Linked DNA regions of Homo sapiens: regions 2, 3 and 4 are each linked to region 1. Evidence: promoter capture Hi-C in 16 types of primary human blood cells and fetal thymus (Javierre and others, 2016). All regions are on one chromosome and are shown on one strand. Each heading gives the region's core, a stretch centred on a gene start or on the middle of the fragment in contact. The rest is flanking DNA. Distances are from core to core; before and after follow the strand shown. Region 1 holds the start of CYP2F1 (cytochrome P450 family 2 subfamily F member 1). Region 2 has its middle 39 kb from the start of LTBP4. Region 3 overlaps ITPKC (inositol-trisphosphate 3-kinase C). Region 4 has its middle 28 kb from the start of NUMBL.

The links. Contacts are between HindIII fragments. The CHiCAGO score rates a contact against its expected background, and 5 or more counts as called.
Region 2: a contact is called between a fragment that was not itself captured here and the fragment with the promoter of CYP2F1 in region 1, in 3 of 17 cell types (neutrophils, naive CD4 T cells and naive CD8 T cells). The highest score is 6.0, in neutrophils.
Region 3: a fragment that was not itself captured here is called in contact with the fragment with the promoter of CYP2F1 in region 1 in 1 of 17 cell types (naive CD8 T cells); the score reaches 5.0 in naive CD8 T cells.
Region 4: a contact is called between a fragment that was not itself captured here and the fragment with the promoter of CYP2F1 in region 1, in 9 of 17 cell types (naive CD8 T cells, naive CD4 T cells, total CD4 T cells and 6 more). The highest score is 12.9, in naive CD8 T cells.

The regions. Positions count from the first base shown.
Region 1 is chr19:41,108,725-41,115,731 of GRCh38, reverse strand. It overlaps CYP2F1 (cytochrome P450 family 2 subfamily F member 1), which reads right to left and starts at 1,300. Exons shown (of 10, transcript NM_000774.5): 1 at 1,240-1,300. The HindIII fragment of the contact is 5,953 bases long and covers 1-1,506 here.
Region 2 is chr19:40,636,720-40,643,263 of GRCh38, reverse strand. No RefSeq gene overlaps it. Among named protein-coding and RNA genes, the nearest start is that of LTBP4, 39 kb to the right of the region's middle. RefSeq lists a silencer at 6,250-6,371. The HindIII fragment of the contact is 1,460 bases long and covers 4,498-5,957 here.
Region 3 is chr19:40,729,035-40,735,901 of GRCh38, reverse strand. It overlaps ITPKC (inositol-trisphosphate 3-kinase C), which reads right to left. Exons shown (of 7, transcript NM_025194.3): 3 at 6,487-6,700; 4 at 2,538-2,742. Among named protein-coding and RNA genes, the nearest start is that of ITPKC, 15 kb to the right of the region's middle. The HindIII fragment of the contact is 1,365 bases long and covers 1,710-3,074 here.
Region 4 is chr19:40,658,953-40,665,431 of GRCh38, reverse strand. No RefSeq gene overlaps it. Among named protein-coding and RNA genes, the nearest start is that of NUMBL, 28 kb to the left of the region's middle. RefSeq lists a silencer at 2,235-2,514. The HindIII fragment of the contact is 3,870 bases long and covers 458-4,327 here.

The DNA of each region.
Region 1 (7,007 bases), core at 51-2,550:
ATCTATCAACATCTATCTATCATCTATCTATCTATCTATCATCTATCATCTGTCTATCCATCATCTATCTATTCTTCTATCATCTATCATTGATCTGTCTATTATCTATCATCTATTATCTATCTATATCTATCATCTATCTACTATCTTCATAATCTATCATCTGTGTATCATCTGTCTATTATCTATCTATCATCACCTGTCTGTCAAGAGACTGTCATACAGAGACAGTGATAAAGAGAGATCAAGACACACAGGGACAGAGACAGACAAACACAGAGATAGGGAGAGCCAGAGAGCACATCACAGAAAGAGAGAGGCTGACATAGACTAGAGAAAGAAAGAGACAGAACTAGACAGACACAGAGCTAGAGAAAGACAAGGGAGATTGAGTGGAGAGACAGTGAGATGGACACTGACTGAGAGACAGAGAGGGACATGGAAGGATGGAGAGAAAAAGGGTAAGAGGGACAGAGAGAGGGAGAGACAGAGCTAGACACAGAGACTGAGGGAGACGAGAATGACAGACAGAAACAGATACACAAAGACAGAGTCACATAGACAGAGATGGAGAGAGAGAGAGAGAGAATAAGAGAGGCAGGGAATATTAGAGCCACACAAAGAGACGGGTAGGCTGCAAAGGGCAGACCAAGAGAGACTGAGGCCGGGCACGGTGGCTCACGCCTGTAATCCCAGCACTCTGGGAGGCCGAGGCAGGCGGATCACTTGAGGTCAGGAGTTTGAGACCAGCCTGGCCAACATGGTGAAACCCTGTCTCTACTAAAAACACAAAAATTAGTCAGGCGTGGTGTTAGGCACCTGTAATCCCAGCTACTCAGGAGGCTGAGGCAGGAGAATCGCTTGAACCCAGGAGGTGGAGGTTGCAGTGAGCTGAGATTGAACCACTGCACTCCAGCCTCAAAAAAAAAAAAAAAAAAAAAAAGAGAGAGAGAGAGAGAGAAAGAGACGGAGACAGAGAGGAAGGGCACAGGCAGAAACAGTGACAGGAAAAAATCAAGTGTTGCCAACCATGGGGTTGCATTGCAGAGAGAGAAGCCACCTACTTGGTGAAGCACCAGTAAAGAAATCCCAGTGCTCAGAACAGGGACATGAGAGCTCTCAGAGGAAACAGCAAAAAAGATTCCTAGCCAGTCTCAGAGACAGAGATTGGAGCTGGCGACCCACCCTCTCTTGGGAGACACCCCCTCCTTCTCTGCCTCCCTCACCGGGGCCCTTTACCTGCTGAGCTGCAGGAGACACTGGCTGGGATGCGCTAGAGCCTGCAGCTCTGGGTGTGCTTGGGGGGTGGTGGGGCAGAGGTTGTTCTTAAGTTGTTTCTGCCCACACCCTCCTCCTTAACCCCACTTTTCTTGTTCTCGCTGTGAACTTTAAATCCCTCCCATCATCTTGCCATACCTTTCCTGCGGCCCTAGGGCTCACAGCCAGCTGGAAAGGTGCCGTGGGAGGGGGCTGCGCCTGGGGGCCCTCCTGGGATGGGGCAAAGCTTTCTTTCTTTCTTTGTTTTTTTTTTTTGCTTTGCCAGTTGGAGCCTGGGCCTGGTTTTGGGGTAGTCATGGGGCTGTCGCAAAATGATGGGCCAGGGATGGGGGCTGGGTTCCTTTGGTATTTGGGGCACTTGTTTCTTTTTCTCTGGGTTCAAGTCCATTTCTGCCACTGATGGGCCGAGTGGCCCTGGCTAAGTCCCTTTCCCTCCAGAGCTGGAGTTTTCTCTTTCTCTGGAAGCCTATTTTTTCATAGTTCTCCATGCTGTTCCCTGTCTCTTGCCGTGGGTCTCTGAAATGCTCTGTGTCTTGCTTTGCTTCTGCCTCTACAGTCTCTGCCTCTGAATCTTTTTGTCTCTCTGTGTCTCTGTCTCTCCCTCCTTTGGTGTCTCTGGGTCTTCATTTCTTATGCTCTCTGGGCTTTCTCCTTCTCTCTGCTTCTCTCCCTGATCTCCCTGTAAGTCCCTCTCAGTCACTGTCTCCTGATCTCTCTGGTCTCTCACTCTCTCTATCTCTCATGTCTCCACGAGTCAGACTGCACTTGGTGGGACTGAAGCCAAGCTGAGGCTGAAGGAGTGTTTAAGAAAAGGGCAGAGCTGGAAGCCACAGGGAAAAAGCCTCTCAGACTAGAATGACACTCTCTCCCACCACTGGCTCATAAACAGCCCTCCTCCTGCCCTCCTGAGCACCCTACTAGCCATGTCTACTCTCAGCTCCTGCCTTAGAAACTCACCCTAGTAGGCCAGGCGCAGTGGCTCACGCCTGTAATCCCAGCACTTTGGGAGGCCGAGGTGGGTGGATCACCTGAGGTCAGGAGTTCAAGACCAGCCTGGCCAACATGGTGAAACCCTGTCTCTACTAATAATACAAAAATTAGCCAGGCATGGTGGCTCACGCCTGTAGTCTGAGCTACTTGGGAGGCTGGGGCAGGAGAATCGCTTGAACCCGGGAGGTGGAGGTTGCAGTGAGCTAAGAACATGCCACTGCACTCCAGCCTGGGCAACAGGGTGAGACTCGGTCTCAAAAAAAAAAAAAAAAAAAAAAGAAGAAGAAACTGGCCCTAGTTACCCACCTCCTGGCCAGGTCACAAGGGCAGAATGCAAAACCTGGAGCTGGGCCAGGGCTCTGGTGCCAGGGGCTAGGCTGGGTGGAGAGCCCCTGCGGTCAAGGGTCTGGGAGGCCAGGTGGAGGTGTGGGTACCCCCACAGGTTCGTGGGTGTGCACCAGGATTGCTGTTCTCAGAGGGGCAGAGGAGGAAGTGTTTGGAGGTCCTGGGGAATTTGACACCCTAGGTCCCAGGCATATGGTGGGGTGGAGGTGGGGCCCATGCTGTTGTTTCAGTCCTGGATAGGCCGGTTGGGGCAGGTCCTGGAAGAGGGCTGAAGGCTTGATGATGGGATTATATAGCTCTAGTTTCCCTTGGCGTCTACTCCCTACTTTTAAGGGGAGGGTGTAGTGCTGTATCCACGCCAACCCTGTAAGCAACTTATCCCTCACCCTAGAACTTGGTTAAGAGGGGCCTAATGAGGCTGGGCGTGGTGGCTCATGCCTGTAATCCCAGCACTTTGGGAGGCCGAGGTGGGTGGATCACCTGAGGTCAGGAGTTTGAGACAGCCTGACCAACATGGCAAAACCCTGTCTCTACTAAAAATACAAAAAAAATTAGCCAGGCGTGGTGGTGCTTGCCTATAATCCCAGCTACTCAGGAGGCTGAGGCAGGAGAATCACTTGAACCCGGGAGGTGGAGGTTGCAGTGAGCTGAGATTGTACCATTGCACTCCAGCCTGGGCAACAAGAGTGAAACTTTGACTCAAAAAAAAGAAAAAAAAAGAAAAAAAAGATGGGCCTAATGGGACCACCTGATTGGGGAAACTGGGATTTATGGGAAGGGCAGTTAGTTAGTTTGTTTTGACACAGGGTCTCACTCTGTCACCCAGACTGGAGTTTAGTGGTGTGATCATAGCTCATTGCAGCCTCGATCTCCTGGGCTTAAGGGATTCTCCTGCCTCAGCTTCCCAAGTAGCTGGGACTACAAGCACGCATCACCACACCTGGCTAATTTTTAAAATTTTTAGTAGAGATGAGATCTAGCATGCTATGTCACCCAGTCTGGTCCCCAACTCCTGGGCTCAAGCGATCCTCCCACCTGGGCCTCTGGGGATTACAGGCGTGAGCCACCATGTGTGGCCGAGAAGGGGGGTTTTAAGAGGCTTTGAGTTCTGTTATTCTGACTTGCTCTCCTGCTACAGAGGGAACTTGGGGCAAGGAAGGGATGTATTGCAATTTCTCAACTCACTGCTGTTGATGTCTTGGGCCTTCATGGGTGGTGGGGGCTGCATCCTGTGTGTGGTAGGATGTTTAGCAGTGTCCTTGGTTTCTACTCAGTAGATGACAGAACCCACCCACTCATTCCCTACCAGTTGTTACAAACAAACATGACTCCAGATACTATTGAATGTCCCCTTGGGAGGAAAAAAATCAACCCAGTTGAGAACCGCTGGGGTATTGCAGAAAGCTGAAACACACTCCGTGGTGGAAAAATGCCTCGCCTCTCATTGTCCTCTCTTGGAACTCCCCCCGCCCTATTCCTATCCTTTTGTTCCTGCCTCCTCAAACTCCAAAACCCTCTTCAGTCACCTCACTCTTTGTTGATGAACCCGCTTCTTATCTCACGGAGAGAATGGCAGCAATGGGCAGTAAGCGGGCGCATCCTCCATCATCCTGTCCTCTTGCCCACTGGCATCTGGACGGCACATGCAGCCTTCCTTCCTGCTAGAACCACACAGTGTCCCATGTCAGGCTTAGGTGAGCCCCCTTCTGGTGTGCCAGATCCCATTCCATCGCCAACTGGAGGACTTGATTCTATTTACTGTGTCATAGTTCCTGTGAAGGTGTGTAGATGGAGTTTTCCCTTAACGATTTCTTTAGGTAAAATTTACCTGTGATGAAATACACACATGGTAAGTGAACATTTGCTGAATTTTGAAGGTATCGAAATCCCTGTGAAGATACAGAATATTTTCATCATCCAAGAAAGTTCTCTTGGAGCTGGGCGTGGTGGTTTGTGCCTATAATCCTAGCTATAGGAGGCTGAGGTGGAAGGATCACTAGAGGCCAGAAATTTGAGACCAGGCTGTGCAACATTGCGAGACCCCTGTCTCTACTAAAAAAAAGAAAAAAACAATAGCTAAGTGTGGTGGTGCACGCTTGTAATCCCAGCTACTCAAGGGGCTGAGGTGGAAGATCACTTGCACCCAGGAGTTCCAGGCTACAGTGAGCTATGAACACACCCCTGCACTCCAGCCTGGGTGACAAAGAGAGACTCCCTTCTCTAAAGTAATAATAATAATGAAAAGAGAACCCTCCTTCCTACTCCTTCCTAGTCAACCATGCTCCATCTCTTGTGGGCAACCATTGTTCTAGGTTTTTTTCTCTTCTTTTGAGACAGGGTCTTGCTCTGTCCCCCAGGCTGGAGTGCAGTGGTGTGATCATTGTTCACTGCAACCTTGACCTCCCTGGCTCAAATGATCCCCCGGCCTCAGCCTCCTGAGTAGCTGGAAGTAGAGGCCTGTGCCATCACAACTGGCTAATTTAAAAATTTTTTGTAGAGGCAGAGGTCTCCCTATGTTGCCCAGGCTGATCTCGAACTCCTGGGCTCAAGCAATCCTTCTGCCTCAGCCTCCCAGAGTGCTGGGATTACAGGCTTGAGCCACTGCATCCAGCCCTGTTCTAGTTTTTTCTTCCCACTATTGATCTACATTTCATATAAATGAAAATCTACGGCTGGGCATGGTGGCTCACGCCTGTAATCTTAGCTTTTTGGGAGGCTGAGGCGGGTGGATCACCTGAGGTCAGGAATTTGAGACCAGCCTGGCCAACGTGGTGAACCCCTCTCTCTATGAAAAATACAAAAATTAGCTGGACTTGATGGAGGGTGCCTGTAATCCCAGCTAGTCGGGAGCCTGAGGCAGGAGAATCACTTGAACCTGGGAGGCGGAGGTGGCAGTGAGCCAAGATCATGCCACTGTACTCCAGCCTGGGCGACAGAGCGAGACTCCGTCTCAAAAAAAAAAAAAAGAAAAGAAAATCTACAGCATTTCTTCCATATACCAAGCCTGCTTCTGGGAAGCATACGTAATGCTTTTGAGAGTTAACCATGTGTTACATACATCAGAAGCTCATTCCTTTTCATTGCAGAGTAGCATGTCACCGCATATAGATGTGCCACAATTTGCTTTTCACCAGTTGATGGAAATGTGGATTGTTCCCAAGGTCTGGCTATTTTGAATAATATGTATTATTCTTGGCATATATGCATATGTCTTTGTGGGGATCTATGTTTCGTGTATCTGGATATATCTGTGAGTGTGACTGCTGGGTTCTATGATGAGTGTATATTTATAAGAAACTTCCAAACTCTTTTCCAAAGTGGCTGTGTCATGTTTTCATTTCCTGTGTGATTTGTTTTCTTCTCTCTATTGAATATTTTTCATAAAGAGCCAATAAGCTGGCCGGGCATGGTGGCTCATGCCTGTAATTCGGCACTTTGGGAGGCTGAGATGGGCAGATCAATAGAGATCAGGAGTTCAAGACCAGCCTGGCCAACATGGTAAAACCCCGACTCTACTAAAAATACAAAAATAGCTTGGCATGGTGGTGTGTGCCTGTAGTCCCAGCTACTCAGGAGGCTGAGGCAGGAGAATTGCTTGAACCCGGGAGGCAGAGGTCGCAGTGAGCCGAGATCACACCACTGCACTCCAGCCTGGGCAACAGAGGGAGACTCTGTCTCAAAAAACAAAACAAAACAAACAAACAAAAAACCCCAATAAGCTGTATTTCTCCCATCTTAAAAAGACCCTTTTATGAAAAGATGTTCAAAATCACTAGCCATCTAGGGAAATAAAAATCAAAAGCAAGAGATATAACTTCGTGTTCATTAGGATGGCTATTAAAAAACACGCACCAGAAATGGTATAATGGTAGGTATTGCCCCTTCCTTCCTTCCTTCCTTCCTTCCTTCCTTCCTTCCTTCCTTCCTTCCTTCCTTCCTTCCTTCCTTCCTTCCCTCTTTCTTTTACCTCCTCAGCTCAAGTGATCCTCCTGCTTTGGCACCCCAATTAGCTGGGACTATAAGCCTGTACCACCATGCCCAGCTACTTTTTTTGTTTTTTATTTTTATTATTTATTTATTTATTCATTTATTTATTTATTTTTGAGACGGAGTCTCCCTCTGTCGCCCAGGCTGGAGTGCAGTGGCACGATCTCGGCTCACTGCAAGCTCCGCCTCCTGGGTTCAGGCCATTCTCCTGCCTCAGCCTCCCGAGTAGCTGGGAATACAGGCGCCTGCAACCTCACCCGGCTAATTTTTTGTATTTTTAATAGAGACGGGGTTTCACCATGTTAGCCAGGACGGTCTCAATCTCCTGACCTCGTGATCTGCCCGCTTAGGCCTCCCAAAGTGCTGGGATTACAGACGTGAGCCACTGCGCCCGGCCTGTTTTTTAT
Region 2 (6,544 bases), core at 3,978-6,477, 480 kb after region 1:
GATCATTTCATCTGGCTCGATTCTGAGTTTTGAAAAATTCGTAAGTCATGTAATCACCACAGTCTGCATTCATGACAGTTTTATTACTTCAAAAATTCTCTTGGGCTTTGTAGACAAGCATAGTTGGTTTTTGTATCTGCATTTATTGTTCTAATGGGAGGAAAAGCAATCGTGGGAGGTTGTTTAAGGCCTGAAGTTATTCAAGATTGGGCGGGAGTCCACCAGCAAAAGCCCAGGATTAGGCAGGAGGAGACCTGGGCTCCAGGCTTGCTCTTCCACTTGGGCCTTCCTCTCTCTGAGCCTCAGCTTCCCCATCTGTAAGATGGGTATGTGAAAACCCCAAGAGTTAACAAAGGCATCCAGGAAGCTCTCAACTGTGGCAGCTCTTTCTTTCTTCTACTTTTTTTTTTTTTTTTTCGAGATGGAGTTTTGTTCTTGCTGCCCAGGCTAGAGTGCAGTGTTGTGATCTCGGCTTACTGTGATCTCTGCCTCCCGGGTTCAAGCGATTCTCCTGCCTCAGCCTCCCGAGTAGCTGGGATTACAGGCATGTGCCACCACACCCGGCTAATTTTGTATTTTTAGCAGAGATGGGATTTCTCTATGTTGGTCAGACTTGTCTCGAACTCCCGACCTCAGGTGATTAGTCCACCTCGCCCTCCCAAAGTGCTGGGATTACAGGCGTGAACCACCGCGCCCGGCCCTCTTCCTTCTTTATTTACAGCTCTGAGGCCGAGTCATCCCAACCCAGGCACTAGCCCTGCACAGAGCAGCCAGCCCTCCTGGTCGCCTGCCCGCTGCTCCCCCACAGACAACCTGACAGTGTTCCGCGCTTTATTTTAAATTATTTTTTATTTTTGGAGACAGGGTCTTACTCTGCTGCCCAGGCTGGAGTGCAGTGGCATGATCACGGCTCACCTCAGATCTCCTGGGATCCAGCGATCCTCCCACCTCAGCCTCCTAAGTAGCCTTGGGAGTACAGGTGGGTGCCACCATGCCTGGCTAATTTTTAATTTTTTGTAGAGACAGGGGTCTCACTATGTTGCCCAGGCTGATCTCGAACTCCTGGGATTAAGCCAGCCTCCCACTTTGGCCTCCCAAAGTGCTGGGATTAGAGATATGAGCCACCACACCCAGCCTATGTTCTGTGTTTTCTACCTTCAATAGCACTCAAATTCTCCCCTTCCCTTGGCGGGGCGTAGTGGCTCACACCTGTAATCCCAGCACTTTGGGAGGTTGAGGTGTGCGGATCACTTGAGGCCAGGAGTTCAAGACTAGCCTGGCCAACATGGCAAAACCCTGTCTCTCCTAAAAATACAAAAAATTAGGCCAGACGTCGTGGCTCATGCCTGTAATCCCAGCACTTTGGGAGGCCGGGGCAGGTGGATCGCTTGAGGTCAGGAGTATGAGACCAGCCTGGCCAATATGGTGAAACCCCGTCTCTACCAAAAATATTAAAAATTAGCTGGGTGTGAGGGTGCGTGCCTGTAATCCCAGCTACTTGGGAGGCTGAGGCAGGAAAATCCCTTGAACTCGGGAGGCAGAGGTTGCAGTGAGCAGAGATCGTGCCATTGCACTACAGTCTTGGAGACAGACTGAAACTCTGTCTCAAAAAAATATAATAAAATAAAATTATCTCCTTCCCCAATCCACAGTCCCCAGGGCCTGCGCCTCCCAGATTCTCCATGGCCCTGTCCATCTCCGCTGCCTGGGTCCCTGCCCGGCCGGCCTCCTCCCTGGACTCCAGCCTGCCCTTATGTCTCCCATGACCCACTCCCACCCAGCCACCCACAAGCACTTTCTAAATCTGACCACAGACCCCCATGTCTCAAAGGATAACTCGAGGCCTGCCAAGCGCCTCCCTTCCCCATAGGACAAAATTATTGCCAGTAATAATCAGGAAATGAAATGAACAATATTAATAGTCAGAAAAGAAATGTAAACAGTGGAGATTTTCTTTTCTTGAACCTCATATACGTAAAGTCTGCCAGTAAAAATTAAATTTAAAAGTAAACATTACAGTACTAAAAAAAAAAAGAAAGAAAAATAGCACTACTATTTATTCAAAGTTTATTGAAAAATTCGAAGTTGGAACTTGGGTTTTTGGGTTACAGTCTGATATAAAATTGTTATGTAAATAGTTGTGAGTTTTTTTCTTCTTGAGGAGAGAGAGACTGGGAGGGAGGGAGGAAACAGGAAGAGAGACAGACAGAGAGACAGACACAGAGTGAGACACAGTTGACCCCTTCACATGGGGCCCTGGGCACTTAGAATTCACCCTGCAAAGCCCCCCCGAAGTCAGGACTTGGTGTGGGGTGTTGCAGAAATGTTTCCTCCCCCTGCCCGGGCTCCGCTGGGAAGCCACGTCCCCCACCCCTGCCCTTCCTCCCACCCACAGCCTGCCTTCTCTCTGGGGACCTCTGTGGAGCTGCCTGGAACATGCGTGGGGTGACATGCATAGCAAGCTGGGGGAAGCAACCAAGGTGGTGGCCAGGCCCCTTGAAGACATAAAAGCACATTGCATTGGGAGGGAGGGACCCCGGGGGGCTGAGAATGTCCTGTTGCTTAAACTGGATGGAGGGGACACTGGGTGGTGGGTGCAGCTCCTCGTTTTCAGCAGTGGTTTCTTGAAGTAGACCCATATTCAGGAAAGTACAAACCGTAAGTGTAACCGCTGGAGGAATTATCACCGATTGAACACACCTGTGTCACCAGCCACCAGCCCAAGAAGCAATATCTCCAGCCCCCCAGAAGCCCCCTCGGCGCTCCCTTATCACCTGCCCTCCCTCCAAGGTCATTATCACCCTCACTTCTGACAGCATAGATTGGTTGTGCCTGTTTTGAATTCATGTAAATGCAATCTGAAAATATGTTCTTTTTAGCATCTGGCTTTTTTCAGTCAGCACCGTGAAAAAAATTCATCCTGGTTGTCGTGTGCAGTTACAGGTTATTCTCATTGCAGCACACACACATTGCAGGCCACTGTGGGATCAGTTTATCCATTCTTCTGCTGGTGGTGAGGGACTGAGCCAAGGGGGCCAGGCGCGGTGGCTCACACCTGTAATCCCAGCACTTTGGGAGACTGAGGTAGATGGATCACTTGAGATCAGCAGTTCGAGACCAGCCTGGCCACATGGTGAAACCCCGTCTCTACTAATAATACAAAAATTAGCTGGGGGTGGTGGCGGGTGCCTGTAGTCCCAGCTACTCGGGAGGCTGAGGCAGGAGAATTGCCTGAACCTGAGAGGAGGAGCTTGCTGTGAGCCGAGATCGTGCCACTGCACTCCAGTCTGGGCAACAAGAGTGAAAAAACTCCGTCTCAAAAAAAAAAAAAAAGAGAAACTGAACCTAGTGGAAAGAGTCCCCTAGGCAGAGGGAACAGCCAGTGCCAAGGTCCTGGGGTGGGATGGGAACATGTCTGGATCTTAGAGAAACAACAAGGAGATCCGTGTTGCTGCAGAGGAGCGTGTGGGGGGTGGAGGGGAGGTGAGGTCAGAGAGGGAACAAGAAGCAGACGGTGCAGAGTCTGCTGGACCACAGTGAGGACTTTGGCTCTTACTTTGAATGAGATTGGCGGAACACAGTGGCTCAGGCCTGGAATCCCAGCATTTTGGGAGGCCGAGGTGGGTAGATAAGTTGAGCCCATAAGTTCAAGACCAGCTTGGGCAATAAGGGAGGCCTCGTCTCTATCAAAAAATTGGCTGGGTTGTGGTAGCCCTGGAGGCCTGGAGGATGGCTTGAGCCGAGGAAGTCTAGGCTGCAGTGAGTCATGACTTGCACCACTGCACTCCAGCCTGGGCAACAGAGTGAGACCCTGTCTCAAAAAAAAACAAAAAAAAAATGAGCAAAATAATCTTTGAGTGAGATGGAGCCACAGGAAAGTTTTGAGCAGCAGAGGGAGTTGAGTTGACTTGGTTATTCCCAGAGTCCCTCTATCTGCATGACGGGGAGAGATTGTGGGGCCAGGAGTAGGAACTCCAAACCCTAGGAGGAGGGTAAGATATGGGTGGCAGCTATGGAGGTGGTAAGAAGTATTTGGCCTCTGAATACATTTTTTCTTTGTTTGTTTTTGAGAGGGAGTCTCACTCTGTCACCCAGGCTGGAGTGCAGTGGTGCAATCTGAGCTCACTGCAACCTCCACTTCCTGGATTCAAGCAATTCTCCTACCTCAGCCTCCCAAGTAGCTGGGATTACAGGCGTGCACCACAATGCCTGGATAACTTCTTCTTCTTTTTTTTTTTTTTTTTTTTTGTATTTTTGGTAGAGATGGGGTTTCACCATGTTGGCCAGGCTAGTCTCAAACTTGTTGCCTCAAGTGATCCGTCTGCCCCAGCCTCACAAAGTGCTGGGATTACAGGTGTGAGCCACCATACCTGGCCCTGAATACATTTTTTGTGTATGTGATTAATGATGTATTTTATTTACTTCTACCATTTTGCTTTGTGATTCTAGTGTCCTCATTTTTCTACGTTTATTTATTTTTTCATGCTCATTTAAGCTTCTTTGAATTGGCTGCATTTTTTGTTTAGTTTTGTCTTATGTTTTCTTATTCTTTGTTTTCCCTCTACTAGTTTGGAATCTATGCACCATTTCTTTCTTTTTGTAGCAATCTTTGAAATTTTAACATGCTTTTTTTTTTTTTTTTTTTTTTGAGGCAGGGTCTTGCTCTGTTGCCCAGCCTGCAGTGCAGTGGTGAGATCCTAGCTCGTTGCAGGCTGGAACTCCTGGTCTCAATGGATCCTCCCTCCTCAACCCCCTGTGTAGCTGGCACTACAGGTGTACAAGACCACACCCACCTAATATTTTTATTTTTGTAGAGACAGGGTCTAGCTATGTTGTCCAGGTTGATCTCCAACTCCTGGGCTCAAGTGATCCTCCCACATTGGCCTCCCAAAGTCCTAGGATTATAGGCATGAATTACTGTGCCTGGCCATGCACATTTTTAAAAATCAGGTCTATTTCTATTGGAGGACAGAAATTTAAAAAATCAAGTCTAGGCTAGGCGCAGTGGCTCACGCCTGTTATCTCAGCACTTTGGGAGGCCGAGGAGGGCAGATCATGAGGTCAGGAGTTCGAGATCAGCCTGGCCAATATGGTGAAACCCCGTCTCTACTAAAAATACAAAAATTAGCCAGGTGTGGTGGCGCACACCTGTAGTCCCAGCTACTCAGGAGGCTGAGGCAGAAGAGTCGCTTGAACCTAGGAGGCGGAGGTTACAGTGAGCCGAGATGACGCCACTGCACTCCAGCCTGGGCGACAGAGCAACACTCTGCCTCAAAAAAAAAAAAAAGAAAAAATCAAGTTTAAAATCTAATATTTTCAACATCACACCAAACAGTACCTGGAGCACAGAGCATGTTGTTTTTGATCTCCCCAATCCTACTTATAATGATAGTGTTGTCTAAGATTTTATTTTATTTCATATTATTTTTGAGTTGGAGTCTTGCTCTGTTACCCAGGGTGGAGTGCAGTGGCGCCATCTCGGCTCACTGCAACCTCCGCTCCCCAGGTTCAAGCGATTCTCGTGCCTGAGTAGCTGAGATTACAAGCACCTCCCACCATGCCCAGCTGATTTTTGTATTTTTAGCAGAGACAGGTTTTCACCATATTGGCCGGGCTGGTCTCCAACTCCTGACCTCATGTGATCCACCTGCCTCAGCCTCCCAAAGTGCTGGGATTACAGGTGTGAGCCACCACGCCTGGCCTAAGATTTTAGATCTCTCAATTTTAGAAAGTGTTTTAACTTTTCCTTTGGAAATAATTTCAAATTTACCAAAAAGTTGCAAGACAAATAATAGGACAAAGAACTCTCTTGTATTTTATACTCAGGTTCATGGATTGGTAACATTTCTACCTCATTTCCTTTATCACTTGCTCTCTTCTCTGTTATGTATTTTCTTTTTCTGATTTTTAAAAAAATCTTTGAGGCTAAGTTACAAACAACATCACCCCTAAAAGCTTCTATAATGGGCTGGGCACGGTGGCTCATGCCTATAATCTCAGAACTTCGGAAGGCCAAGGCAGGCGAATCATCTGAGGTCAGAAGTTCGAGACCAGCCCAGCCAAGATGAAGAAACCTTGTCTCTACTAAAAATACAAAAATTACCTGGGTGTGGTGGCACACACCTGTAGTCCTGGCTACTCAGGAGGCTGAGGCAGGAGAATCACTTGAACCCGGGAGGTGAGGTTGCAGTGAACCAGGATTTCAGTGAACTGAACTGCACTCTGCACTCCAGCCTGGGCGACAGAGCAAGACTGTCTCAAACAAACAAACAAACAAACAAACAAAAACTTCTGTAATGTATCTCTTTTTCTTTTCTTTCTTTTTTTCCGTAGAGACAGGGTCTCACTCTGTCACCCAGGCTGGAGTGCAGTGGCATGATCCTGGCTCACTGCAGCCTTGACACTGCAGCCACCACACCTGGATCATTTTTAAAGTTTTTGAGAGATGGGTTCTTGCCATGTTGCCCAGGTTGGTCTTGAACTCTTGGGCTCAAGGGATCGTCCCACCTCAGTGTCCCAAAGTGCTGAGATTACAAGCATGAGG
Region 3 (6,867 bases), core at 1,143-3,642, 380 kb after region 1:
GTGTAAGGATTAGAGGAAACCAGGTGTGTAGGATGCACAGCACAGTGCCTGGCATATAGTTATTTGAGACTAATGAGACTAATGTTATCTGTTATGTTTCAGTAGGGCTCAGAGAACCCACCTAAGTCATCTGCCACACTGTGCCAGGTGCTATGTGGGCACTTGGCAATAGGGAGTAACACGACAGACACAGTCAGATGAGGGGGCAGACACTGATTAAGATGATCAGAAAGGAAGATAAGAATAATGAAAGAGTATAAGGAGCTATGAGGAGGTGAAGAGGGGACCCTGATCAGTAGAACAGAAATCAGGGAGGGCTTCCCTGAGGAAGCAAAATTTGAAAGGAGACAGAAAAATGACTGAGAATCAACCAGACCAGGGGGCACAGACGGAAGAGACCAGGGTGTGGTGGCACGCACCTGTGTCCCAGCTACTCAAAAGACTGAGGTGGGGGGATCACTTGAGTTTAGGAGATTGAGGCTGCAGTGAGCTGTGATCGCGCCACTGTACTCCAGCCTGGGGGATGACAGAGTGAGACCCTGTCTCAAAAAAAAAAAAAATAGAAGAGCATTCCTGGCAGAGGGGTGCAGAGGCCTTGTGGCAGGAAAAAGCAAGCCTATTTCAAGTAAATGCAAGTGCTTCACTGTGCCTGAAGGTACACAGAAAGAATGAGAGGAATGAGAGGTTGGGCGTGGTGGCTCACGCCTATAATCCCTGCACTTTGGGAGGCTAAGTCAGGCAGATCACTTGAGGCCAGGAGTTCAAGATCAGCCTGGTCAACATAGTGAAACCCCGCCTCTCTTAAAAATACAAACATTAGGCCGGGCACAGTGGCTCACGCCTGTAATCATCCCAGCACTTTGTGAGGCCAAGGCGGGTGGATCACAAGGTCAGGAGTTCAGGACCAGCCTGGTCAATATGGTGAAACCCTGTCTCTACTAAAAATACAAAAATTAGCCAGGAGCGGTGGTGCACACCTGTAATCCCAGCTACTTGGGAGGCTGAGGCAGAAGAATCGCTTGAACCCGGGAGGCAGAGGTTTGCAGTGAGCTAAGACTGTACTACTGCACTCTAGCCTGGGCAACAGAGCGAGACTCTGTCTCAAAAAAAAAAAAAAAAACAACAATTAGCCAGGCATGGTAGTGCGTGCCAGTAATCACGTCAAGTCAGGAAGCTGAGGTGGGAGAATCGCTTGAACCCAAGAGGTGGAGGTTGCAATTAGTTGAGACTGTGCCATGGCACTCTAGCCTGGGTGACAGAGCGAGACTCTTTCTCAAAAAAAAAAGAAAAGAGAAGAATGAGAGAGAAGAGGCTAGATCCTAGAGGGCCCTACAGGCTATGGAACTTCACTTCAAGGTACTAGGGAGCCACAGAAGGGTTTCGAACAGGAGAATGGCATGGTCGGATCTGCAACAGGCATTCTCATACATTGCTGGTGGGATGTGCAGTGGCATAACACCGAGAGTGGAAGTTTGGTCATCTCTCGCAAATTTCCCATGCCTTTAAGCTTTGACCCAGGAGTCCTGCTTCTGGAAATCTACAGCTCAATCTGCATACTTGCAAAATGTCTTATATACAAAGTGATTCTTTGAGGCCTGCTAATGGCAAAAAATGGAAACAACCCAGGTGTCTGTCTATAGGGGACCAGGCACAGTCACAAAAACAGTGTTACATAGCTGTGGGGGAAAAAAAAACAGAAAGAGGAAGCTTTCTATGGAATGATGTGGAAAACTCTGCAGGGTGTTACTATTAAGTGAAAATAGCAAAGTACCAATCAGTATGCGTACTGAGGAACATTTCGGATCTACAACTCCATTTACTGGCACTAACAGGAAGAAATACAAGAAACTGACAAAGTGGTTCCCCATGAGCAGGTAGAGGGATAGAGGGACAGAATGGGAAGGACAGCAGCAGAGTTGGGAGAGAAATTTCTCCACATTTACCCTTTTATAATATTATTTTGACTTTTGAACTGTGTGACTAGCTATTCAAACAATTTTTTTTTCTTCTAGAAACAGAAGCTCCCTATGTTGGCCAGCTTAGTCCTGAACTACTCCTGGCCTCAAGCAATCCTCCTGCCTTGGCCTCCCAAAGTGCTGGGATTACAGGCATGAGCCACCATGCCTGGCCTATTCATACAATTATATTTAATTTGACAAAGAAAAAGGAATGCAAGAAAGAAAAAGAGAAACCTTCTCCATAGCTGGGGGAAAGGGATCCCTCCAGCTCTTGTGCTGCAGGGAGACCAGGGCCAGGATGCCCAGGGAGACAGAGGCAGGAGAAGATGGGGCTGGACTAGGACATGACCATGGAGAAGGAGAGGAGGAAAAGATGGACTCAGGAGATGCTCAGGCAGACGGATAAACAGAACCTGGGCTCTGATGGGTATGGAGGTAAGAAAGAGGCTGGGCTTCCCCAGCCCCAGCCTTTCATCCCACGCCGTCTCCTGCACTCTCTCGTGGCTTTCCCCAAGAAGCCCTGCCTGGGATCTGGCTATAGGCCTTCCCGGGACAGGCCAGGCGGTTCCTGGTCCTCACCTTGATGCCCTCGATCCGGAAGCCCAGGGTAGAGGTGGAGCTCATGGTTTCCCTCCACTGCATGTAGCGGGGCTTGGTGACTGCACCCTGGGCATGCTCCTCAGGGGTAGGGGCCCCAGGGTCCACAGCCACCATCTTCTCATACATGTCCTTCCGGGGACGGGGACGTTCCCGTGCCTTCACTAGCTCCTCTTCCAGATAGGTCCTGAGCACACAGAGGATGTGACAAAGGAAATTATGTAGAACAAACTGGAGGGCTTACCCTTCCTGATATTAAGACATAAAGCCACAGTGTGGCACAAGAATGGGCAAATCAATGCACAGAATACAACAGAGTCCACAAAGACACACACGTAGAGTTGTGCAGTTATGACTAGGCACTGCAATTCAGTGGGGAAAGGGAAGTCTTTTCAATAAACAGTGCTGGGTCAACAATCCATATGGAAAAAAATGAACCTGATCCCTACCTCCCACACACAGAAACATTAATTCTATCTGGAATGTAGGTCTAAATATGAAAGCTAAAACAATAAAGCTTGTAGAAGAAAACATAATATTTGCATGATCTTGGAGTAGGAAAAGATTTCTTAAACACAATGAAAAAAACTGACAAACTGGACTAAATTAAAGGTAGGGCCAGGTGCAGTGTTCACATCTGTAACCCCAACACTTTGGGAGGCCAAGGCAGGAGGTTCACTTGAGCCCAGAAAGTCAAGATCAGCCTCGGCAACATAGCGAGACCCGGTGTTAGTTACAATGTATATTGGTTTCCCTCTATGGTTCCTGGCTGGTAACTCTCATAGCCCTTGTTACAATCTTTTTTTTTTTTTTTTTTTTTTTTTTGACGCCCGCCCGAGCTAGAGTGCAATGGAATGGTGGTGATCTCGGGTCACTGCAACCTCTGCCTCGCGGATTCAAGCGATTCTCCTGCCTCAGCCTCCTGAGTAGCTGGGATTACAGGTGCCCGCCACCACACCCGGATAATTTTTTGTATTTTTAGTAGAGATGGGGTTTCACGATGTTGGCCAGGCTGGTCTCGAACTCCTGACCTCGTGATCGGCCTGCCTCTGCCTCCCATTTACAAGTGTGAGCCACTACGCCCAGCCTTTTTTTTTTTTTTTTTTTGAGATGGAGTCTTGCTCTGTCACCAAGGCTGGAGTACAGTGGCGTGATCTTGGCTCACTGCAACTTCTAGGACCTCCCGGGTTCAAGTGATCCTCCCACCTCAGCCTCCTGAGTAGCTGGAATTACAAGAGTATACCACCACACCTGGCACATTTTTGTATTTTTTTAGTAGAGTCAGAGTTTCACCATGTTGCCCAGGCTTGTCTTGAACTGGCCTCAAGTGATCTGCCTGCCTTGGCCTCCCAAAGTGCTGGGATTACAGGCATGAGCCACTGCGCCCAGCCACAATCTTTTGTTATAATTTTAGGTGTGTTAGATCTCAGAAGCTGGCTCAAGAAACCAAAATCTCTGACCTCCTCCTGCCCTCCTTTCACCTGCCCCAAGGCAGGACTCTAATCTTTCCCCACCTTCCTGACTGTGGGTCTTAGGACCCTCCCCAGAGAGGATCCCACCCTATACTCTGGGGGAAGGAATGCTGGTGTCTTAAAGCCTCCATAAAAACCCAAGGATTAGGCTGGGCATGGTGGCTCACATCTCTAATCCCAGCACTTTGGGAGGCCAAGGCGGGCGGATCAGGCCACTGCATTCCAGCCTGGGACACAGAGCAAGACTCCCTCTCAAAAAAAAAAAAAAAAAAAAAAAAACCAAGGATTGGGCTCAGGAGCTTCCAGATAGCTGACCCTGTGGAGGTTCCTGGAGCGTGGTGCGCCCAGGGAGGGCATGGAAGCTCCGTACCCCTTCCCCCATACCTTGCCCTACACTTCTCTTCATCTTTTGCAGTATCCTTTGTAGCAGTACCCAACCAGGGACTGGTTTTGTAGAAGATAATTTTTCCCACAGACTGTGAGGGGGATGGTTTCTGGATGAAACTCTTCTACCTCAGGTCATCAAGTATCAATTAGATTCTCATAGGAGCATACAATCTAGATCCCTTGCAGGCACAGTTCACAATAGGGTTCGCCCTCCAGAGAATCTCCTGCCCGCTAGTCTGACAGGAGGTGGAGTTCAAGCGGTAATGCTCGCTGGCCTCCTACGGTGGGGCCCCGTTCCTAAGAGGCCATGGACCGGTACTGGTCTGCGGCCCAGGGGTTGGGGACCCCTGCTTTATATTAAACCAGTAAAGGTAAGTAAGTATCCCCCTGAGTTATTTGAGCCACTCCAGCAAATTATTTGAACCCAAAGAGGAGGACATGGGAACTCCAACTTGGAGCCAATCAGTCAGAAGTTTCGAAGGCCTGAACTTATGACTGGTGTCTGTAACTGGGGGGCAGTCTTGGGGACTGAGTCCCCAACCTGTGGGATCTGACACTATTTCCAGGTAGATGGTTTTAGACTTGAATTGGAGGACATCCAGCTGGTGTCCGTTGCTTGGTGTGTGGGGTTAAAAAACCTAAACATTTGGTCACAGAAGTCTTCTGTGCTCTCATTGTTGTGGCAGTGGTGTGAGAACGGAAAAGCATGGATTCAGAGCTTTTCCTAAATAGCCTGTCTCTACAAAAAATTGAAAATTAGCTAGGTGTGATAGTATGCACCTACAGTCCCAGCTACTCAGGGGGCAGAAGAAGGAGGATCACTTGAGCTCAGGGGTTCAAGACCAGCCTGGGCAGTACAGGGAGACCATGTCTCTATAAAAAATAAAATATAGCCAAGCCTGGTGGGACATACCTATAGTCCCAGCTACTCTGGAGGCTAAGGTGAAAGGACCGCCTGAGCCCAGGAGTTCAAGGCTACTGTGAGCTATAATCATGCTCCTTCACTTCAGTCGGGGCAACAGAATGAGACTCTGTCTCAAAAAAGAGTAATAATACAAATACTATTTTGTTTATAAAAATATGTTTATCAAAAGACTACTAAAAGAATGAAATGGGAGAGTTGAAGACTATGTGTGTGTCTGTGTGTGTGTGTCTGTGTGTGTGTGTGTATACAGCCTCCCAGAGTGTTGGGATTATAGGTGAGAGCCACTGAACCCAGCTGGAGAAAGCAATTAGAGTTCACTTCTTGCAGACTAGGCGTGGTGGCTCACGCCTATAATCCCAGCATTCTGGGAGGCCGTAGTGGGTGGATCATCTGAGGTCAGGAGTTCCAGACCAGCCTGGCCAACATGGTGAAACCCCATCTCTACTAATAATACAAAAATTAGCCAGGTGTGGTGGCGGGCGCTTGTAATCCTAGCTACTTGGTTTACACAGGAGAATCACTTAAACCCAGGAGGTGGAGATTGCAGTGAGCCGAGATCGTGCCACTGCACTCCAGCCTGGGCGATAGAGTAAGACTCTGTCTCAAAGAGGAAAAAAAGGGATCCTATTCCAAACCCATCGGAATGGTTTAAGTTAATAAAACAGACAGTACCAAGCACCGGTGAGAATCTGGGACGACTGTAACACTCATACATGGTGGTGGGAAGGTACACTGGTACAACCACTTTGAAAATGGACTTGGCGCTATTTTCTTTTCTTTTCTTTTCTTTTTTTTGAGACAGGGTTCCACTCTTGTTGCCCAGGCTGGAGTGCAATGGCTCAATCTCAGCTCACCGCAACCTCCACCTCCCAGGTTCAGGCAATTCTCCTGCCTCAGCCTCCTGAGTAGCTGGGATTACAGGCATGCACCACCACGCCTGGCTAATTTTTTGTATTTTTAGTAGAGACAGGGCTTCACCACGTTGGTCAGGCTGGTTTGGAACTCCCAACCTCAGGTGATCCACCAGCCTCGGCCTCCCAAAGTGCTGGGATTACAGGCGTGAGCCACCGCGCCTGGCCAGGCCAATATTTTCAATAATGCCCACCCCCTGCCCTCCATCCCTGCCCCAGGGCTGCCCCAGCCCCACCTGCTGCCCATCTTGCAGTCCATAATGGAGGGGCCCTCAAAGTCAGCCAGGAGGTCTTCCATCTGGTTGAAGGTCTGGCCATCCTGCAGCACCATGCCATAGTAGGCAGGCACGAAAGGTCGCAGCGGGTCTTTCATCAGCTGCTCCAGGCTGCGCTGCTCACACTGACAGAAACGTTTCAGAATCCGACCATCCTCTCCTGCCTGGAAGTTCCCTAAAGGTGGTAGAATAAATGAGAGGATCAGGAACTGGATCAGGAAGAGAACCTCTCCGCAGCTGCCTGTTTGCATCAGATCCTGGCCACCATTATCTTGCCCGACCCTCCTGCAATGCTTTCTCTCCCTGCAACTTTTTTTTTAATGATTTTAAGATTTTATTTTA
Region 4 (6,479 bases), core at 1,143-3,642, 450 kb after region 1:
CCCAGCACTTTGGGAAGCCGAGGCAAGTGGATTACCTGAGGTTGGGAGTTCGAGACTAGCCTGGCCAACATGGTGAAACTCCGTCTCTACTAAAAATACAAAACTTAGCCAGGCGTGGTGGTGGGTGCCTGTAATCTCAGCTACTTGGGAAGCTGAGGCAGGACAATCGCTTGAACCTGGGAGGCCAAGGTTGCAGTGAGCCAAGATCACGCCACTGCACTCCAGCCTGGGCAACAGAGCGAGACTCTGTCTCAAAAACAAAAAAGCATCAGGCTGTGAGGGAACAAGCCTAGGGGTCTGCCCTCTATAGCGTTTCCATTACATCCCATTAACCTGCTTGTGGACTCCAGGACTAGGAGACCTAAGACAGCTCTGTCGGGGTATGACGTTGGGGGAATGTCCCAGGCAGGGAGCAGAGGACCCTGCCAGAGATAAGCCACACTCTCACCTCCAAGCTTTTGCATTTGTCATTCTTTCTGCCTAGAACACCCTTTCCTTCATGGTGACACAGCACTTCCCAGAAGAATGCTACTCATTCTTTAGGACTCCGTTCAAATACCTTTTGTTAGAAGGTGACCCTCTTCCAAGGCCCTGAGCCCCATCCTATCCTTTCATTAGGATTTATTTATTTTTTGAGACAGAGTCTCACTCTGTCGCCCAGGCTGGAGTGCAGTGGTGTGATCTCATTGCAGCCTCCACCTCCTGGGCTCAAGCGATTCTCCTGCCTCAGCCTCCCAAGTAGCTGGAACTACAGATGCCTTGCCACCACACCTAGCTAATTTTTGTATTTTTAGTAGAGACTGGGTTTCACCATGTTGGCCAGGCTGGTCTGGAACTCCTGACCTCAGCGATTTGCCCACCTCGGCTTCCCAAAGTGTTGGGATTACAGGTGTGAGCCGCCGCGCCCAGCCCAGTATTTTTGCTATTATTATTTTGGAGGCAGGGGTCTCACGCTGTCACCCGGGCTGGACTGCAGTGGGGCAATCATAGCTCATTGCAGCCTTGAATTCCTGGGCTCAACCAATCTTCCCACCTCAGCCTCCTGAGTAGCTGGGACTATAGGCGTACACCACTATGCCCAACTGATTTTTAAATTATTTTGTAGAGATGGGGGTCTCGCTATGTTGTCCAATCTGGTCTGGAACTCCTGGCCTCAAGCGATCCTCTTGTCTCTGCCTCCCAAAGTGCTGGGATAACAGGCGCCCGGCCCCATCCTACCTTTTTGGTCTAAGTTCAGACGGCTCTTCAACCCCCCCAGACTGAGTCAGCAGCACCCACTCTCCCCTTGGATCCTACAGGCCCCTCTCCTCCCCTATCCCAGCCCTGACCCATCTGCCTGTGCCTCCCCCGTCCTCTCAATGACTCATTCTGGGCTGTCACTATCTGGTGGCAGGTCTGTCTGCCTCACTGGACTGTGAGGGAGAAGGGGGTCTGGGGCGTCTCAGTCACTTCCCCGTGCCAACACAGGGCCAGGCACAGAAGAGGCAGCCTCAGTGTTTCCCCTCTGCAAACCACTAGGAAGTGAGAGGGGCAGAAACGGCCTAGGACTGGGACAGAGAGGATTTGAGCAACTGGAAGGATGGGGAACTGAGGTCAGAAGCACGCAGCAAATCTGGGACACAGTCAAGGCACCCCCACCCCGTCCCTGACTGATCTCTTCGTTCAACCACCCTTCCTTGCGCCCAGAGCAGCCTTTCTCAGAGCTGCCCCCACAACGGTTCCCGCGGATGCAGATGGAAGGGGGCCGTCCCGGGGAGGACCTCCCACAGGCTCCTCTTGGCCCATTTCCCATCTTCCCTCCCACGCCCAGGATGGAGACTCTGGCTCTCCACGGAGCTTTTCGCTCCAAAGAGGCCCTGGAACCCGGATCAACCGCCCACTCCCACTTCTCCAGGTTTCAGCCCGCTAAGAATAGACCAGGGACATCGCACTGGAAAGCCCCGCCCTACCCAGGAACCCCATCCCACACAAACGCCTATCGAGGTCATTTTGGGGGAACAGGAGGACGTCCCCCTGGGGCCGGTTCTGCACTCCTCTCTCCCGTTCTTTGGGAAGCTCCGCCCTCCGTTGCAGCCCCGCCCCTCGCGGCCGCCCCCTTTCCCGGAACCGCCCCCGGCCGCGCAGGCTATTTTGATGCATTCCACGGGTGACAGAGCCGGGCGCCCCCACCCCGCTTCCTGTTGGGTGATTTTGTTTTGTTTTGTTTTGTTTTTTAAAGCTCCACCCCCAGGAGGCCACAGTTTCTCCGGGAGCCGGCCGCGCAGGACCGGGGACAGCCCTGGCCCCTCGCTGCACAGCGCTGGGACCGCCCCACGGAGCGCGGCGTCTCATGCTCCCTGGGGCCCGCTGCTTCCACTGCCCTGCGCAGGGCCACGCGCCACCCCGGGCTGCCTGGCCGTAACCTACCCCGTCCACCCTCCAGGCGCGCTCGCCGACCTCCCGCACCTGTGGGGCCACGTGGTTGCCGGGAGCGCTCCTCTAGCGTGGTGAAGCAGCGCCCCCTCGTGGTCTTGCGCTCGCGGCGCCTGGGCGGCCGCCCCTCCAAGACTTTGCTAAGGCAGGAAAAGTGTTTAAGAAAAATTAAAATTGTGCTGGGCGCGGTGGCTCACGCCTGTAATCCCAGCACTTTGGGAGGCCGAGGCAGGTGCATTACCTGAGGTCAGGGGTTCAAGACCAGCCTGGCCAAAATGGCGAAACCCCGTCTCGACTAAAAATGCAAACATTAGCCGGACGTGGGGGCGGGCGCCTGTAGTCCCAGCTACCCGGGAGGCTGAGGCAGGAGAATCGCTTGAACCCGGTAGGTGGAGGTTGTAGTGAGCCGAAATCGAGCCACTGCACTCCAGTGATAGAGGGAGACTCGGTCTCAAAAAAAAAAAAATTGCTGTCGCATTCATGAACATTATACTTCAGGCCCTGGCTCAGCCATTCACCCCTCTGGGAAGTCCTCCCTGACTGGTCGGGCGCCTCCTTTGGGCTCCTATGGTTCCTTATGCTCCTCAACTGGGCCTGTACCTCCCCGCCCTGGCCCGGATCCGTCTGCCTGTACATCTCCCATCTGGACCTCGACCCCTTTGCCCTCTGCCTGCACCTCACCAGTCCCCGCCCCGACCCCTCTGCCTGTGCCCCCCATTCCAGCCCAACCTCTCTGCCCGGGCTTCCCCCATCCTGGCCTCCCACCCCTCTGCCTGTCCCCTCCCCACCATCCCGCCGTGATGGCTCTAGGCTGTCACTGTCTATAATGGGTCGGCGTCCCCGCCCTGCACAGAAAACCTCATGAGGGCAGGGAAGAGAGCTGTCTTGATAACTACTGAGTCCTCAGTATTACCAAGGTAACATTTATTTCCTCCCTCAACACTGGTTTTGTTTTAACAGCTTTACTGAGGTATAATCTACCTGTCATAAAATTCACCTATTATAAGTGATTTACTGATTTTGGGTGATTTTACAGTTCTGCAGCCATCACAGCCAATTCAAGAACATTTCCATCACTCTGAAAAGATCCCTTCTGCCCATTTGCAGTCGCTCCCTATTCCCTGTCCCAGCCCCAGGCAACCACTGGTCTACTTTCTGTCCCATACATATTCTCTTCTTCATTTTACAAGCATTTTCTGAATATTTATTTTTATCAGCTATTGAGGGCTGAGGGTACACAATGAAACTCACAGGCCCTGCCTTCAGGGAACTCAGAGTCTGGTTATTGTAATAGCTGATGGGAAAATATGTCCATGCACTAATTTCTTCATTCATTCAAAAAACATTTATTGGCCAGGCACTGTGGCTTGTGCCTGTAATCCCAGCACTTTGGGAGGCTGATTGGGGAGGGTCACTTGAGGCCAGGAGTTCAAGACCAGCCTGGAAAATATAGTGAGACCCCCCCCCCCACCCCGATCTCTACAAAAAAATTTTTTTTTTTAATTATCAAGGTGTGGTGGTGCACACCTATAGTCCCAGTAACAGGAAGCTGAGGTGGGAGGATTGCTTGAGCCCAGGAGGTCGAGGCTGCAGTGAGCCATGATTGTGCCACTGCACTCCAGCCTGGGTGACAGAACAAGACCATCTCTACAGAAAAAAAAAAAAAAAAAAAAAAGAGAGAAAAAGAAGGGTCTTCCAAAAATTCATGGAAAATGTGTATTATGAAAAAACTATGCATGGAGTTCAATTTTTTTTTTTTGCACCAAAATAAATTCATACTAACTTGTTATAACTTGTCTGAACAGGACCTAGTTTGAGACACTAAAATAAAACATCAGATTGAAAAGAGCCCCTATCAGAGCAACACGAATTCTAAAATTGAAGCAAGAACAAGCATCAAATTGATGGTGAAGCTTGGGTGGAAGAATGATGAAATCATTGATGTTTTCCAAAAACTTGACAGTGCCCCAGAGAAATCAGCCATTTACAAATGGATAACTCGTTTTAAGAAGGGACAAGTTCGGGCGTGGTGGTTCACGCCTGTAATCCCAATACTTTGGGAGGCTGAGGCCAGCGGATCATTGGAGCTCAGGAATTCGAGACCAGCCTGGGTAACATGGTGAAACCCCATCCGTACAAAAAATACATAAATTAGCTGGGTGTGGTGGTGCACACTTGTAGTTCCAGCTACTCAGGAGGCTGAGGTGGGAGGATCACTTGAGTCTGGGAGGTAGAGGTTGCAGTGAGCCGTGATTGCGCCACTGCACTCCAGCCTGGGTCATGCTGAAGATGAAGCCCACCGTGGCATACCATCCACATCAATTTTTGCAGAAAAAAATTAAATTTGTTTATGCCTTAATTAAAGAGGACTTACAGTTAACAGCAGAAACAATAGCCAACACCATAGACATCTCAATTGGTACAGCTTACACAATTCTTTTTTCTTTTTTTTTTTTTTTTTTTTTGAGACAGGGTTCTCATACTGTCGCCCAGGCTGAGTACAGTGGTGAGATTGTGGCTCACTGCAGCCTCAACCTCCTGGGCTCAAGCGATCCTTCCACCTCAGCCTCCGAAGTAGTTGGAACTACAGGTGCGTGCCAGCACGTTCAGCTAAGTGTCACACGCGTCCCTGTGAAGAGACCACCAAACAGGCTTTGTGTGAGCAACAAGGCTGTTTATTTCACCTGGGTGCAGGCAGGCTGAGTCCAAAAAGAGAGTCAGCAAAGGGTGGTGGGATTATGATTAATTCTTATAGGTTTTGGGATAGGCGGTGGAGTTTGGAGCAATGTTTTGCGGGCAGGGGGCGGATCTCACAAAGTTCATTCTCAAGGATGGGAAGAATTACAAAGAAACTTCTTAAGGGTGGGGGAGATTACAAAGTACATTGATCATTAGGGTGGGGCAGAAACAAATCACAATGGTGGAATGTCATCAGTTAAGGCTATTTTCACTTCTTTTGTGGCTCTTCAGTTGCTTCAGGCCACCTGGATGTATACGTGCAGGTCACAGGCGATATGATGGCTTAGCTTGGGCTCAGAGGCCTGACACTAAATTTTCGTATTTTTTGTAGAGATGGGGGTCTCATTAGGTTTCCCAGGCTGGTCTTGAACTCCTGGACACAAGTGATCCTCCTGCCTCATTCTCCCGAACTGCTGGGATTACAGGCTTGAGCCACCTCACCCGGCCTCAGCTTACACAATTCTGACTGAAATTAAAGCTAAACAAACTTTCCACTCGATGGGTGCCAGAACGGTCGCACCCAGATCAGCTGCAGAGAAGAGCAGAGCTTTCCATGGACATGCTAAACAAGTGAGATCGAGATCCTAATGCATTTCCTTGAAGGATTGTAACGGGAAATGATACATGGTTTCACGGGTGCAATCCTAAAGACAAATCGTAATCAGAGAATGATTGCCAAGAGCGGGGAAGTGATCCAGTCAAGGCAGAAGCACACTGGTCAAGAGCAAAGGTCATAGCAACAGTTTTTGGGGATGCTCAAGGCATTTTGCTGGTTGACTTTCTGTAGGGTCAAAGAATAATAAGATCTGCTTATTATGAGAGTGTTTTGAGAAAGTTAGCCGAAGCTTTAGTAGAAATAAGCCTGGGAAGCTTCACCAGAGAGTTCTTCTCCAGCATGTCTACGCTTCTGCTCATTCTCCTCATCAAACGAGCAATTTTACAAGTTTTGATGGGAAATTATTAGGCATCCACTTGGCAGTCCCAATTTGGCTCCTTCTGACTTTTTGTTTCCTAATCTTAAAATCTTTGAAGGGCACCCATTTTTCTTCAGTTAAGAATGTAAAAAGACTGGGCTGGGCGGAGTGGCTCACGCCTGTAATCTTAGCATTTTGGGAGGCCAAGGAGGGTGGATCACCTGAGGTTGGGAGTTCAAGACCAGCCTGACCAACATGGCAAAACCCTGTCTCTACTAAAAAAAAAAATACAAAAATTAGCCAGGTGTGGTGGCTCATGACTGTAATCCCAGCTAGTCGGGAGGCTGAGGCAGGAGAATCACTTGAACCCAGGAGGTGGAGGTTGCAGTGAGCCGAGATCATGCCACTGCACTC